Linked DNA regions of Homo sapiens: region 1 is linked to region 2. The links are contacts of gene promoters, found by promoter capture Hi-C in human tissues and cell types (Jung and others, 2019). All regions are on one chromosome and are shown on one strand. The core of a region is centred on a gene start or on the middle of the fragment in contact, and the rest is flanking DNA. Distances in the headings are between cores, read along the strand shown. Region 1 holds the start of DLG1 (discs large MAGUK scaffold protein 1). Region 2 holds the start of RPL35A (ribosomal protein L35a).

Region 1 (7,288 bases), core at 3,182-5,681, 660 kb after region 2:
TTCTGTCACTCACTCGGGGTAACTTTGGGCAAATTCTCTCTGGACCTCCTAATAGGGAGGTCCTCGTCACCCCGAGGAAGTTCGAAGACGTGGGCAGTGACTTGGAAAGCTTCCCGAGATTCCCCTTCTATAACCTGGGTGGCTCAGACCGGGAGCGGGGTCCCAGCCGGCCGGTAATTCCGCCCGGAGGTGCGCACGAAACAAACCTGCAGCGCTGGCCGAGGGCGGCTCAGCTTCGGAGGGCGCGACTCCGGGTGAGTTCTTAAAGGGACCGTCAGAGTTTGGGTAACACCTGCGATGCTGACCGGGCGGGGACGCAGGCTTGAGGGAAATGAATGAATGAATGAATGAGCGAATGAATGAACAAACCTTCTCTGCCCACCCTTAAGTATACCATACTCGGAATTAATCAGTTAGGCTTAAAAATCTTGTACTATAACCCTCAAACTCTTGCCAAGTTAACCAGTGTCTCTATTTCATATGTCCTTCTGTAATGAAACCCCTCCCCCCAAGCCTATTACTAAGGGACGAAGAGTAACTTAACAATCAGCCTGGAGTGGAAGGCAATGCAGAGTTGGCACCCCTCCCCGAACTCCTCCCTCTCCCTCTCCCAGGCCCCGCCCTCCCCGCCCCCTGGGAGGTGCAGTTGGCTCCTCCTTAAGGCGGCTTTTCCCCGGTGGGGATCTACCCCCGGGGTCGCCAGGCGCTGTCTCTGCCGCGGAGTTGGAAACGGCACTGCTGAGTGAGGTTGAGGGGTGTCTCGGTATGTGCGCCTTGGATCTGGTGTAGGCGAGGTCACGCCTCTCTTCAGACAGCCCGAGCCTTCCCGGCCTGGCGCGTTTAGTTCGGAACTGCGGGACGCGCCGGTGGGCTAGGGCAAGGTAAAGGCGGGCTCCTCCAGGGCCACCCCGGGCCACCTGTGGAGTCCGAGTGTTAACTCCTTTGTTCTCAGAGCCACTTCAGCGGCCGCCCTTTTAAGCGAAGAGGTTCCCTTAGGATGCTCCCCGGGTACCCCTTCCGTTCCCCTGCCCTCCCCCGACCCGCCTCCCCCTTCCAACCCGAAGGTAGCAGCGCGGGGAGCCCGGGGCTCGGCGCGAGCCGCCTCCTCACTTCCCATTGGCTGAGAGCGCCGGGAAAGCGGTCACGTGGGAGCGCGGCAGGCCAGCTCGGGGGCCGCCATCTTGGCGGAAAGTTTCGGGGGAGAGCGGTTGGGGGCGCGGAAGGAGGCGAGGTTCCGGGGGTGGGGCGTGCGGCAGCAACTGGGCGAGCGGGCCGGGGGGCCGCGGCGAGCGAGGAGGCGGCGCGGCCGAGAAGGAGGACGAGGCCGCGGGGGTGCGGCGGCCCAGGGGAGCTCCTCCCCCGTCCCTTCGCCCCCTCCGCTCGGCTCCGCGGGCCCCGGGCGGGGCGGGGGTACGTGGAGCGGGGCCGGGCTGGGGAGCTGCTCCGAGTCTGGCCGGGGCGCACCCCAGTTCCGAGCGCACGCCGCTCACCGGAACTTTGTGGCGGCGCCGCAGGTGTGGGGGCCCGCGGAGGTGTGCATGCGGGGCGCGAGGGCGTCGCGGAGAGCGGCCGCTGCCCTGTCCGGCCCCCGCTGGAGCAGCCCGGAGGCAGCGAGCAAGGAGAAAGGCAAGCGAGAGGAGGGGGCCCGAGCAGGGCGGGCGGCCAGTCCCGCTGGTCCCCTCTCAGCGCTCTGCGGCCGCTGCTGGCTCAGGGGCCAAGGGTCGGAGCGCTTCACCCGCCCGTACCCAGTAGCAGGTGGGGAGTGTGGATACTTGTGCGGGGGAAGAGGCGGCCTCAGGTCTAGGCTCTTTGGGGAGGGGACGCTTTCGAGGAGAGTTTGGAAGCCGACTTCTGTCTGTTCTTAATTTGGAGGGGTACCCACTCCAAGGAAAAGCTTTCCACGTTGACAGACAACTGCTGCGTTTTGAGACTCTTTCTTTGACTTGGTAAAACTTTGGAACGTGGGGTTTTCAAATAGGCTGCGAGGGTTTTCTATTTCGATAGGGGAAAATGCTAGTTTAACATGATTCTATCCTTTTTCCTTTCCGTTGTGTGTTTTAAAGGTGTGTGCCCTCTTCCTGATTCTGGAGAAAAATGCCGGTCCGGAAGCAAGGTGAGAGTTTATTCCGTAACTCTGTTGTCGATGTCACTTGCTTTTCCGTGTGTCAGTTTTTTGATTGCCGTTTTAGAATCGTTTGTGTAACTTTGATGAGACAGCACGGTCCTAGCTTTATTGCTTAGGGAATCTAAGCCTCATATCATTTCAGAAGATGGAAACACGAAAATGTTTGTTAAACTTTCTTAACATTTCTCTAGTGATTAAGAGAGGCAGTTAGCCCCCCCCCAACAGATGTCCTTAATAACCCTGAATTGGTGTTTTAGTATTTCACTCTATCATTCTTACTAAGCACTATTCTGTAAGCAACTGTGGGATACTAAGAATTTGTATTTTGAAATGTTAAAAATTTGGATTATGATGACAAATTGTAGATAATCTGCTTTTGCATTATCAGGTAATCTGAAACTGTTGCTAATACTTTGATCTTTTACTTTGGCAAACTACCAGTACACATTTATTCCAAACTGCTCACTCTCCTCCGTTTTCTAATGTGATATATGTTTAAATTTTTCTTGTATTTCTTTAATTTTTTTTTTTATTTTTTGGTCATTCTAAGGAATATGTGTACATGAACATAGTGACATCAATTGACCTGAAGGATTTGCGGAACTATTTAGATGTCATGCAGAATTATTTGCACTAGTATGTGATACTTTTTTTGTAAATAGAGAGTTTTAATCAGGCTCTGCTTTTTCTTCTCAGATACCCAGAGAGCATTGCACCTTTTGGAGGAATATCGTTCAAAACTAAGCCAAACTGAAGACAGACAGCTCAGAAGTTCCATAGAACGGGTTATTAACATATTTCAGAGCAACCTCTTTCAGGCTTTAATAGGTGGGAATTAAAACTTCGTAACTATTATGCCAGCTAGGCTTTATGCTCCTCTCAATTCATTTATTTTAAACTTAAGAAAATGATGTACTTAATTCTCTGAGGCATTCGGTAACTTGAACATCTTCAGTGAGTTGTGTGTTTTTCATAGGCCAGTGTCCTTTCTTAAAATAACTAGTAACCAAAAAACTTTCAGGATTATTTCAGTGGCTTTTGAGAACATTGTTTCACATCTTAATAGCATTAACTATTAAAAGATGTTGCACAGATGTTTAAGGACCTAAAAGGTATGACTGAGTTACTGTGAGCTTGTTTCTGTATTTGACTGGCATGTCTCTGAAGTCATTGAAAGCGTGTGAAGGGTTCTGCTGTGTTGAAGAACATTCATTCCCTTAATGTAGATTTCTGTTTGAGCTTGGCATTCATGGAGTCAGAATTTTAGACCTGGAAAATAATCTTAGAGATGATCTTGTCTAGTAACCGTATTTTACAGGCAAGAAAATGGAAAGTTTTATTCTTAATTGTAACTTAATTTGAAGTGGTGCATTGTTTGAAAGAACTGGAAAAATAAGAGTCCTGAGTTCTTTTGCCACTAATTGAATGATATATCCCAAGTCATTTAATCTTTTCTATGCCACCATATTAGCTGTAGAATGTAGCTGTTGAAATGACAGAATGGGTTTAAAGCCTTTTTTAAGTAGATAAATCATTTTTAAAAGCATCATCTCATATTTTGTGTATAATCTCCTATGTATAAAACAAGGTGACTTGTCTGGCTCTTTTGTCCAGGTACCTCAAAAAGTTTGCAAACCACCGAACTAGAAAGTTTGTCTCTTCCAATTCTAAGAATGAAGTTTTTTTTTTTTGTTTTAGTTATCAACTATATAACATTTTAACATAAGAAGACATATACTTAATTATATTACATTTATTTCTTCAGTAACTTCCAGTCAGATATGGCCTTACATCTATCTGTTGATAGAATAATTGTTGGTGTGATTTGAAGACTACTTTCAAGTCAGTGTGTCCTGTCAGGTACATTATTGATAAATGGATGCTCTCTACGGTTTTAGAATGAAAGATTTTTGTAAAGACCACTTGATGCACCTGAACAATTTTGAAAAATGTAACATTTTAATAGACTTTTAAAAACATAAGGATACATAGCACAGTGTAATGAACTGCCTTTTAACTGTTACCCAGCTCCAGAAATTCACATTTTGCCATTTTTGTTTACATTGATGGACATTTTTTACACATTTGAATTTCTGAGGTTTAAGGTCCGAATGGATGATCAAATTGGATTCCTCTGGAAAAACAGCAAAAAGCATTTTTTAGTTATTTGTTTTCTAAATCAACATTGAGCCTAGTAATTTGGTGCAGTTACTGTTGCAAAAAAAGTATGTTTTTTCGCAACAGTATAGAGATATATATATACATATATGTATAGATAGGCAGATAGATAGACTGCAGACTTTTCTTTGTGTGATGGCTGTAACTTAAGAAAATTAAATCGTTAGTGAAATAACAGAATCTACATTTATATTTCTGTCTAGATTGGGGATGGGTTTGCTGTGTTCAGAGACATTTTTGACCTATTCTGCCTTGCCTGTTTTGAATGTGTCTATTCTTACGTACAATTGAACTTTGATAGAGTTAGCTTTCTTCTCTTTTTTTTTTTTTTTTTTTTTGAGGCAGAGTCTCACTCTGTCACCCAGGCTGGAGTGCAGTGGCGAGATCTCCGCTCACTGCAAGCTCCGCCTGCCAGGTTCACGCCATTCTCCTGCCTCAGCCTCCTGAGTAGCTGGGACCAAAGGTGCCCACCACCACGTCCGGCTAATTTTTTATTTTTTGTATTGTATTTTTAGTAAAGACGGGGTTTCACTGTGTAAGCCAGGATGGTCTCGATCTCCTGACCTCGTGATCCACCCACCTCGGCCTCCCAAAATGTTGGGATTACAGGCGTGAGCCACCGCGTCTGGCCTAGAGTTAGCTTCCTAATTACTAAGTTTATATTTGTGAATCTTCTAATTTCATTGGTTGTGAATTTACTTTGACATTTAAATTTACTTATATTTAATGTTCTATAGGATGTGGTACTATATCACATTTTGGTGTAAGACAAGTAATAGATTTTAGGAGTTTTGAAATAGATAACGTTTAATAGAGGTTCTGTGTGTTTCCATGCTATAATTGTTGATACTACGGAATAAATACATTCTCTTGTGTTTCCTGAATAACTTTTAATACTTAGTCTGAAAATGTTTAGTCTGATAAGATTTTCTTTGTATTTTGCAACTCTACCATTGTTTTGAAACAGTGTCATAAATGTACTTTAAGCTTGTAAACTGCCCTAAGCTAAACCAGTTCATTGTGTCCATAGTGTTTGCAGAAAAATCCGACTCAGAAGACAGAGTGCCACTTACTGAAAGGTTTTTTCTCTCAGTAAGTGGCACTCTGTCTTCTGAGTTGGTACCTGTGGACCACTGGATTAAAGGAGAACAGGGGTCTTGGCCACCTGAGCTGTTTGGAGTCATTGAGTGCTTAGATTTTTCACTTCCTTAATTTGGAAATCACTTGTTTAGGCCGCAGTGAGTTATCTAGTTATCTGTTTGGGGTGCCAAGTGTCTTTGGATTTTCAGTCTGCATTGATCATTTATTGATTGATTCTTTGAACTGGTAGTTTATATTGACTTTTCATGCATTTAAAAAAGTTTGAGTCTCTAGGGGTTTGGTGTCCCCCCCTGTAGTTGATACATAGATTAGGTTCCTGTACTTTTGGATTATTCAGAGGGACAAGCATGTACGTACTGTATTATATTTGTTCTAAAATACCAACTGTTAAATATTTCAATATCTGGTATATGTCATTTTTAATTGACAGTGTTTCTGTGTTCTGACACATGAAATAGTGCATTTTATAATTGATACTCGCAATGTAATATAGAAATCATTGGTCTAGTGCTGATAGATACTTGGTAGTATCTTTGAAGGATGGCTTAAAGATTTAAAAATTATTGAAAGCAGAAAAGTTTTTACTAATTTTGAATTTCAGCTGATGTATTGTTTCTTTAGAGCTAAATATTTAAAGTTGTATCTTAACAAAAGTCCATGAACTGCACATTTGTTTAAAATTTACTCCCAAAACATACCTGGTGATTATTTTTGTATAAAGGAAGATAAAGTCTGCTTAATTTCACTCTGTGATTTAGGTGAGAGCAATTTGAAAACTTGCTTTTGTATTCCAGTTTTTTGTGCTTAAGTTTGAAAATTTTTTGAGTAGACGGGATATGGTTTGATTATAATCAGAGCCCAGGTATTCAGGTCCATAGTGGTTTCAGTTCATTCATGATTCTAAGGTGTGTGGGATCTGAGATGACACTGCTAGTCCATAGAGACTTCATACCAGTCTAAACCCCTGCAGTTATTTCTTACGGGATCAGAGAACTCATCTGCTTTCCTTGTGCATGAGAAAAACTGGGGCCCAAGATTAGGCTGGCTTTAGAGACTTGAGTAAGTTGAGTCATGTGATTTGTATATTTTGTCTGCAATAAATAAGCTTATTCTAATGCAGTGTTTTATTTCTGCAGAGATTTCAGAATGAAAGTGGATTATGTAATAATACTGTCCATTTATGAGTTTAGTTACCAGTTCATTTGTTGCCACTCTATTAAAATCTAATAGTTTCACTAGCCCTTATAAAAGGACATTACCCTATCTTTATTTGTAGATACTAGTTTCAAAAGTATGACCCCTTTGCCATCTTCACCATCTTTAAATGTACAGTTCAGGAGTGTGAAATGTATTCATATTGTTGTGAAACAAATCTTCAGAACACTTTCGTCTTGCAAAACTGAAATCCTATACCGAATAAACAACTGCTCCCCTTTCCTCTCACTTCCCAGCCCCTTGTGACCAACGTGCTGCTTTCTGTTTCAGTGAATTTGATCATGTTAGAAACCTCATAGAAGTATTTGTCTTTTTGCGACTGGCTTATTTCACTCAGTGTAGAGTCCGCAAGGTTCATTCATGTTGTAGTTGTTGACAGGATTTTCTTCCTTTTTCAGGCTGAATAATATTCCGTTGTATGTATATACCGCATTTTATCTAGCCATCCATTGATGGACAGTTGGGTTGCTTCCTCCTCCTGGCTGTTGTGAATAATGCTGTTAGGAATGTGAGTGTGCAAATATTTCTTCAAGACCCTGCTTTCAGTTCTTTTGGATATTTACCCAGAAATAGGATTGTGGGATCATACGGCAGTTACATTTTTAATTTTTTGAGGGCCCACCATAATGTTTTCCATAGTGATTGCAGCATTTTACAGTCTCACCAGCA
Region 2 (7,702 bases), core at 2,979-5,478:
AGGCTGCAATAAGCTGTGATTATGCCACTGCACCCCAGCCTGGGTGACAAAGTGAGACCCTGTCTCCCCCCAAAAAAAAAACAAAAAACAAACAACCAAACACCTAATTCTTTCAATTACTATCTCTCCAGTGTTCTGCAATACACAAATTTTGCAGCATAATTTACTGGTGTCAATTTCACAACCACAGAAGTCCTCAGAAGTCAAAGCACAACACCTTGAACCTAGTCTGATTCATCAGACGTCCATTTTGCTAAAAACCATACTCACCACTCGGATTCTGTGTCCAATGGCCTTAGCAGGAAGATTGCTTCGGAATTTGGCACGAACCATGCCACTGTTTCCATGGGCCCGAGTTACTTTTCCCCAGATGACTCTGGTTTTGTTTGGTTTGCCGCCAGGAGTGACTGTGTTGCTGATTTTAAAAAGGGAAAGAAGAGGAATACAAGCTGATATAGTTGGATACAAATTCAAGGTGACCTCTACACGAGTGGCTCTCAACCCTGGTTACCCACTTCATCACCTGAGAAACTTTAAATGCCTAGAACACCATTCATTCAACAGATACTTATCGAGTAACTATTGTATGCCAGGCCCTTCTGTAAAATACAGCAGCTATAAAACAAAAATCTTTCACATGATAACCAAGTAAGTTTAAGGAAAATACATAGGTCAGATGATAACAGAGGCAATATTGAAAAAATAGCAAAAAAGGACAAGTGTGAGGATATTTGTGTGTACAGAAAGGAGGAATTACCTGCCATTTTAAATAGCCAAGGAAGGTCTCACTGAGGTGACCATGGAACAAAGACTGGAAAGGGAGGGGAAATGCCATGAAGTGATCACGGGATGACTAGCGCAGGCACTGGGGCCAAGGAGTGTGTGTCCTGGCCGGAAGAAAGACTGAAGACACCAAGGGGTTAATCCCAGCTGAGATAAAGAGAATTATGGAGCTCTTAATGACGGGCTTTTACTGAATGAGAGAAACTACTGTGGTTCGAGCAATGTACAAAGGATATGACTTTATATATATTTCCTTTAAAGACCACGGGGTTGTCTTGTCACCCAGGCTGCAGTACAGTGGCCCAATCATAGCTCACTGCAGCCTCTATCTCCTGGCATCAAGCAATCCTCCCACCTAGGGCTCTCAAATGCTGGGGCTACAAGTGTGAGCCACTGCACCTGACTTAAAATTTTAAAGGAACACATTGGCTGTAGAAGAAAAGGTGGGGCAATGATTAAAACACTTTCCCAGAGATTTTAATTGGCTTGGAGTGGGTGAAGACAATAGGATTTGCTCTTGTTGTCCAGGCTAAGGTGCAATGGCACGATGGCTCACGCCTGTAATCCCAGCACTTTGGGAGGCTGGGGCGGGTGGATCACGAGGTCAGGAGTTCGAGACCAGCCTGGCCAACATGGTGAAACCCTGTCTCTACTAAAAATACAAAAGTTAGCCGGGTGTGGTGGTGCGCGCCTGTAATCCCAGCTACTGGGGAAGCTGAGGTTGCAGTGAGCTGAGATCACACCACTGCACTCCAGCCTGGGCAACAGAGCAACACTTTGTCTCAAAAAAAAAAAAAAGTCTACAGCATAAACATCTTTAGGCATGCATAAAAACTAATTTTGGCCTGGTGCAGTGACTTGCGCTATAATCCCAGCACTCTGGGAGGCCGAGGCAGGTGGATTACTTGAGGTCAGGAGTTCAAGACCAGAGTGACCAACACTGTGAAACCCCGTTTCTACTAAAAACATAAAATTAGCTGGGTGTGGTGGCACACGCCTGTAATCCCACCTCACTCGGAGGCTGAGGCAGGATAATCGCTTGAACCCGGGAAGCAGAGATTACAGTGAGCTGAGATTGTGCCATTGCACTTTAGCCTGGATAACAAGAGCAAAACTCTGTCTCAAAAAAGAAAGAAAAAAAGAAAAGAAAGAAAAGAAAAAACAAGGGGCGGGGCACCGTGGCTCCTGCCTGTAATCCCAGCACTTTGGGAGGCTGAGGTGGGTGGATCACAAGTTCAGGAGTTTAAGACCAGCCTGGCCAAAATGGTGAAACCCCATCTCTACTAAATATACAAAAATTAGACAGGCATGGTGGCGGCCGCCTGTAATCCCAGCTACTCAGGAGGCTAAGGCAGGAGAATCCCTTGAACCCGGGAGGCGGAGGTTGCGGTGAGCCGATATTGTGCTACTGCACTCCAGCCTAGGTGACAGTGAGACTCCGTCTCCAAAAAAAAAAAAAAAAAAAAAAAAAACCCATAATTTTAAGGCATTAACAAAATGCATTAAGCACAAGTGTTCTAAAAATCCTTAAATTCTGGCAAAAGGAGCCGAGAAAAAAAATTAGAAACCTTAAAAGGATCACAATATAAGGAATTACCTCCTTTATTGCTTACAAGTGCAAAAGGTACCTAAATCCAACACCACCCTCAGAAGTAACGTCCTTCTAAAACTCCCCATTAAGTTCCTTAATGACGCAAAATAGAAGCCACAGCAATACCAATCCAGCCTGGCCAACATGGGGAAACCCATTCTCTAGTAAAAATACAAAAATTAGCCGGGCGTGGTGGCACACCCCTGTAAGCCCAGCTACTCAGGAGGCTGAGGCAGGAGAATCGCTTGAGCCAGGAGGCAGAGGCTGCAGCGAGCCAAGATCGCGCTACTGCCCTCCAACCTGGGCAACAGAGACTCTTGTCACAAAAACAAAAAAACAATACCAAGTACTTCAGCTAAATCTTTTGTTTATTATTTCAATAGGATAATGAGGCCAGGCGCGGTGGCTCAAGCCTGTAATCTCAGCACTTTGGGAGGCCGAGGTGGGCGGATCACCTAAGGTCAGGAGTTTGGGACCAGCCTGGCCAACATGGCAATACCCTGTCTCTACTAATAATACAAAAACTAGCCGGGCGTGGTGGCCGGCGCCTGTAATCCCAGCTACTCGGGAGGCTGAGACAGGACACTTGCTTGAACCCGGGAGGCGGAGGTTTCGGTGAGGGAGACCAAGTCACTGCATTCCAGCCTCGGCAACAGAGCAAGACTCCGTTATATAAAAAAGAAAATGAGGCAGATCTCAAAAACCCAAAACCTACCAGTGTCATAAACTTACTTCTTTGCTTTATATACATAAGCGCATCTCTTGCCCAAATAGAATTCTGTTTCATCTCGGGCGTAAACACCTTCAATTTTAAGAAGAGCTGTGTGCTCCCTTTGGTTCCGGAGACCCCGCTTATAGCCAGCAAAAATGGCCTTGGACCACAGCCTAAGACACAAAAGATACACAACATGAAACATAAGCTTCAAAAAACCAATCTGACTTGTAATCACCCCCACCCAAAAGTTACTCAGAGCAAACATCTAAGTTTTTTCTTGCCAATTTTAAGCTCGCATTTACGTTCACGTCTAACACACAAAAATAAAGAACTATATTTAAAACGCGTACCTTCCAGACATAGTTCCTTTTAGAAGTCCCGTTCCCAGCAGGCCTTAAAACAAACAAAAAGATTAGTTTAAAACCAAGCCACACAAGTTTCCCACCTCGTCCCCTCTCGTTTAAGCCCCTAAAGCAAATTCCTTTTGGATGGGAGTTTCATGTAGGAGTTCGGGGACAACAATGCCAGAACATCCATATGAAACGCAGGGTCCGGCAAGACATTCAAACCTCAGAGAACAGCTGGTATCTAAGCAAACTTCAGAATGAAGACAAAACTAAGGGACAGGAGTCACAAAAATGACTCTCAGAAAAGCCTGAGAAAATGCATGCCGTTATCAGTAGGCAACACTCAGGAAAAGAAATGAAGCCTTAAAGAGAAACACACACGTAAGACTTTTATGCAATGGCTGGGGGAGAAAAGCTGAGGAAAGAGACTGGTCAGACAAGCCAAGGAAGGTATGGACTGGGAGGAAACGGATGAAGGAAGCACTGCCTCATGGACAACTGCACACGAACAAAAACATCGTTTCACTCCGTTCAGGCCCAGGAATTTAACTGGGATAACCCGGGCAGCCGTTCTCCGGGTGTCAGGGGACCAAACACCATCAGCCCAACATCTCCTCCATCCTGTTCTCCCTCTTCTTGAAACCCGTAGAAATCAATGGCTGGCAGAGACTCCGATACGCACCGGCGACTCGCCAAGGCACAGGAACAAACCTACTCCGGTTATTTGCCCCCAAATTTCAGCAGCAGACCCTTCACTCACCTCCACAGGAGCCAAGATGGCGGTAAGAGAAGGACGAGGCCCCGCCGCGTGGCCTTGTGGGATTAAACATCTTTCGACTCCGCCCTCAATTTAGGCATCTTCTCCAAACGCCAGAAAAACAATCCTCGGAAATCGGCTTCGCACTGAAATAAGCCACATTCAATAGCACTCTTACAATTATTTTCCTAAGTCCTTTCATCTTGGTAGGCTGCAAAATGTACTACTTGGGAACAAGGGAAGGCAAAATGGTAGCCAGCTAAATCCGCCAAAGCTGTGCGTTGCCATAGAAACAACTTAGTTTACTTCCTGCGTCCCCGGACGCCGTAGGTGGAAAGGCGAACCCTGAGTGGAGGATGTTCCCGCTGCCTAAAGAATGATTGACTGTAAGATTGATTTGCCAACAGTGGGGTGCTTTTCTCTCGATACACACAGCAATAGACAGAACGGAAATTCTGGGATCCTAATCTAGCATGGAAGAGAAAGGCCGGGAGCACGAAGGCAGCAGGACCTCTTCCTTCTCTTTTTTCTTTTTCTATACTTCTTTTCTCCCCTCTACTTATTTATCTCTTTCAAGAAATGAGACTGGGCACAGTGGCTCACGCCTGTAAACCCAGCTCTTTGGGAAGCCGAGGCGGGAGGATCGCTTGAGGCCAGGAGTTCGAGACCAGCCTGGGCAACATAGTGAGACCACCTCCCCCAACCTCTACAAAAGAAAAAAAAAATGAATGAAATGACTTAAGTTCTTACCTCCATTCTTCTTTTTGGATCCGAGGTATGAGGAGGACTGCCTGCAGGAGGCTTTATCGCCCTTTTAGGAGAACTCGTTTAGCTGCCTCGTGTCCGCACCTAGTAGGTCCTCCGTAGATACTTGTAGAGGTGGATTAGTGGACGCCAGAGATTCACATTTCCGAATTATTGCATATTTATTTGGGTTATCCTATGGATTCATTCATTTATTTAACACATAGTTTAATGAATGACTACCCTGTACCAAGGTTTGTGTAAGATGACACGGCAGTAAACAAATCTATGCCCTCGTGGAGCTTATATCCTACGAGGCGGAGCAACACAATGAGCAAGTAAAAATAGATGACACGTTAGAAGATGATAATTTCTGTGAAGAAAATTAAGCAGAGAGGCCACTGTAAAAGAGGCTTTCCCCACTTTGAGATGGGAAGTATGTAAAAGAGGCTTCCCCTGCTTTGAGATGGGAACTATTTAAGGGTCCTGAACAGAAGGGTGACTCTATCTGACTTCTATATTGACAAAGTCACTGTGTTGAAAGTGAAGGGAGGCAAGGGTATCAGCAGGAAGATAATTATAGGTTCCTGTAGTGACTATGATGAGAGGTGATGGTGTGTAAACAGAGGATATTGAGTACTGGAATTCTGAATATATTTAAATTCTGGCAAGATTTGCTGGTGGATGAGGAATGAGAGAGAGTAAAGTATGACTCCGAAGTTGTATGAAATAGATGTATATAAGTCACTTTTAAAATCAGATCCTCTCTTAAATACAACAGGATAGAACTTGTACCTTGTAGCCTACTACCCCACCCAGTGTTCCCTGTCCCAGAAAGAAATGTGCTAGAAATTTCACTATTAGATATTGATTTGTCAAAGTTCTATATGGAAGTCCTCCTGGGAGGAATAACACATTAAGTGTGAGTTTCATTCGTTTGCTCGTGTATTATTCGTTCCACAAATACTTATTGAGCACTGAGACTTAGCACCTGATACAACTGTGAGCATCGTTGTCATGTTGCTGCTTTCATGGAACAGTTGTCTAGTGGGGGGAAACTGACACTAACGTAACAAATTGTGAACACAGCTCTGCGGGAAAGTAGTGGCATGAGTGCCCAGAAGCCTGATCTGGCCTGACGAGTCAGCGAAAGGATCACTTGGACAAGTGTCAGTTAAGGCATTTTTCAAACTGCAGGTGATGACCATTAGTAGAGCATGATAAGAATACTTTTTAAAACAAAGTATGGGCCGGGCGCAGTGGCTCACGCCTGTCATCCCAGCACTTTGGGAGGCTGAGGTGGGTGGATCACTTGAGGTCAGGAGTTTGAGACCAGCCTGGCCAACATAGTGAAACCCTGTCTCTACTAAAAATACAAAAATCAGCCAGGGGTGTTGGTGTGTGCCTGTCATCCCAGCTACTTGGGAGGCTGAGGTACAAGAATCGCTTCAACCTGGTAGGGGGAGGTTTCAGTGAGCTGAGATCCTGCCACTGCACTCCAGCCTTGGTGACAGAGTGAGACCGTCTCAAAAAAAAAAAAAAAAAAAAAAAAGGTAAAGCAGGAGTGAAACTACAAGGGATGATGGAGTCTCCCGGGACCTAGGAAAGAAATAGTTACCTAAGCCCAGAGAGAGACGTTTGGAGAGAATTGCCTGACAGGAGCCATGACCTTTGATAGAGGAACATAACCAACCAATTATATTCTGGCAGAGAAGGAGCAGGGAGAATAAATGTCTGATCTCACTTCTCTACACTGAATCTCTTTCTGGAATCTCCCCTGGATATACTCCATACGGGTCCATCTCTCAGAGCACAGAAAATGTTAGAGATTTCACCTAGAAAAATGACACTGTCTTAAGCTGGTGATGGGTCAGTGGGACTTTACACGGTGAAAAGGTGAGGGAAGAGTGGCTCCACTGGAAGGAATAGCAGGTGCAAAGACCCTGAGTTGCAAGGGAGCATGAGTCCAGAGAAGAACTGAAAGAAGCCCACTGTGGCTGGAGCCCAGAGAGCAAGGAAAGTGCAGTTGTAGTTGGGTCTAGAGAGGAACAGAGGGGCCCAGATCATACAGACCTTGTGGACCAAGTCAAGAATTTTCTTCTTTGTCCTAAGGCAACGGGAAACCATTGAAGGGTTCTAGGGAAGGACATGATGAGATTTTCCATTTTAAAAGATCACCCTTTCATTTTAAAAAGCTCACTTCCTGAACCTTCTGTCAGGATATCAGAAAAAAAAAATTTAAAAATTAAAAGATCACTTCCAATTTAGAGGTTGTTGGAGTAGTTCAAGCAAAAAAGAAAACAAGGAAACAAACAAACACAGCAACAACTAGGTCCAGCTTAGGAGATATGGAAATAGAAAGTAAAATCCGCCTGGGCGCCTTGGCTCACGCCTGTAATCTCAACACTTTGGGAGACTGAGGCAGGTGGATCACCTGAGGTCAAGAGTTCGAGACCAGCCTGGCCAACATGGTGAAACCCCGTCTCTACTAAAAATACAAAATGGTGGTGTGAGCCTGTAATCCCAGTTACTCGGGAGGCTGAGGCAGGGAAATCACTTGAACCTGGGAGGCAGAGGTTGCAGTGAGCCAAGATCGCGCCATCGTACTGCAGCCTAGGCAAGAAGAGAAAAACTCCATCTCAAAAAAAAAGAAAAGAAAAAAAGAAAGGTATTCTGCTTAATACCATGCTACTTCCTCCTAAAACTGCCCCTGCATCAGGACATTTGGCTAGTCTGAAGTACTTTTTCAAATTTATGTGAAGATT

What was found. Contacts are between HindIII fragments. The study calls those that stand out against the background at their distance.
Region 1: a fragment that was not itself captured here is called in contact with the fragment with the promoter of RPL35A in region 2 in 1 of the 25 tissues and cell types used here (hippocampus).

The regions. Positions count from the first base shown.
Region 1 is chr3:197,292,011-197,299,298 of GRCh38, reverse strand. DLG1 (discs large MAGUK scaffold protein 1) reads left to right here and starts at 687. Exons shown (of 25, transcript NM_001366207.1): 1 at 687-763; 2 at 2,064-2,113; 3 at 2,822-2,953. The coding sequence starts at 2,095. MIR4797 (microRNA 4797) reads left to right here and starts at 5,351; the gene lies at 5,351-5,421. DLG1-AS1 (DLG1 antisense RNA 1) reads right to left here and starts at 1,052. Exons shown (of 3, transcript NR_038289.1): 1 at 689-1,052; 2 at 207-321. RefSeq lists silencers at 511-640, 1,131-1,760. The HindIII fragment of the contact is 6,857 bases long and covers 1,003-7,288 here.
Region 2 is chr3:197,946,716-197,954,417 of GRCh38, reverse strand. RPL35A (ribosomal protein L35a) reads right to left here and starts at 4,228. Exons shown (of 5, transcript NM_000996.4): 1 at 4,197-4,228; 2 at 3,440-3,482; 3 at 3,107-3,259; 4 at 271-415. The coding sequence starts at 3,450. All of the region lies in intron 2 of DRC9 (dynein regulatory complex subunit 9), which reads left to right. RefSeq lists enhancers at 2,179-2,960, 3,744-4,526, 4,606-4,825. The HindIII fragment of the contact is 11,846 bases long and covers 1-7,702 here.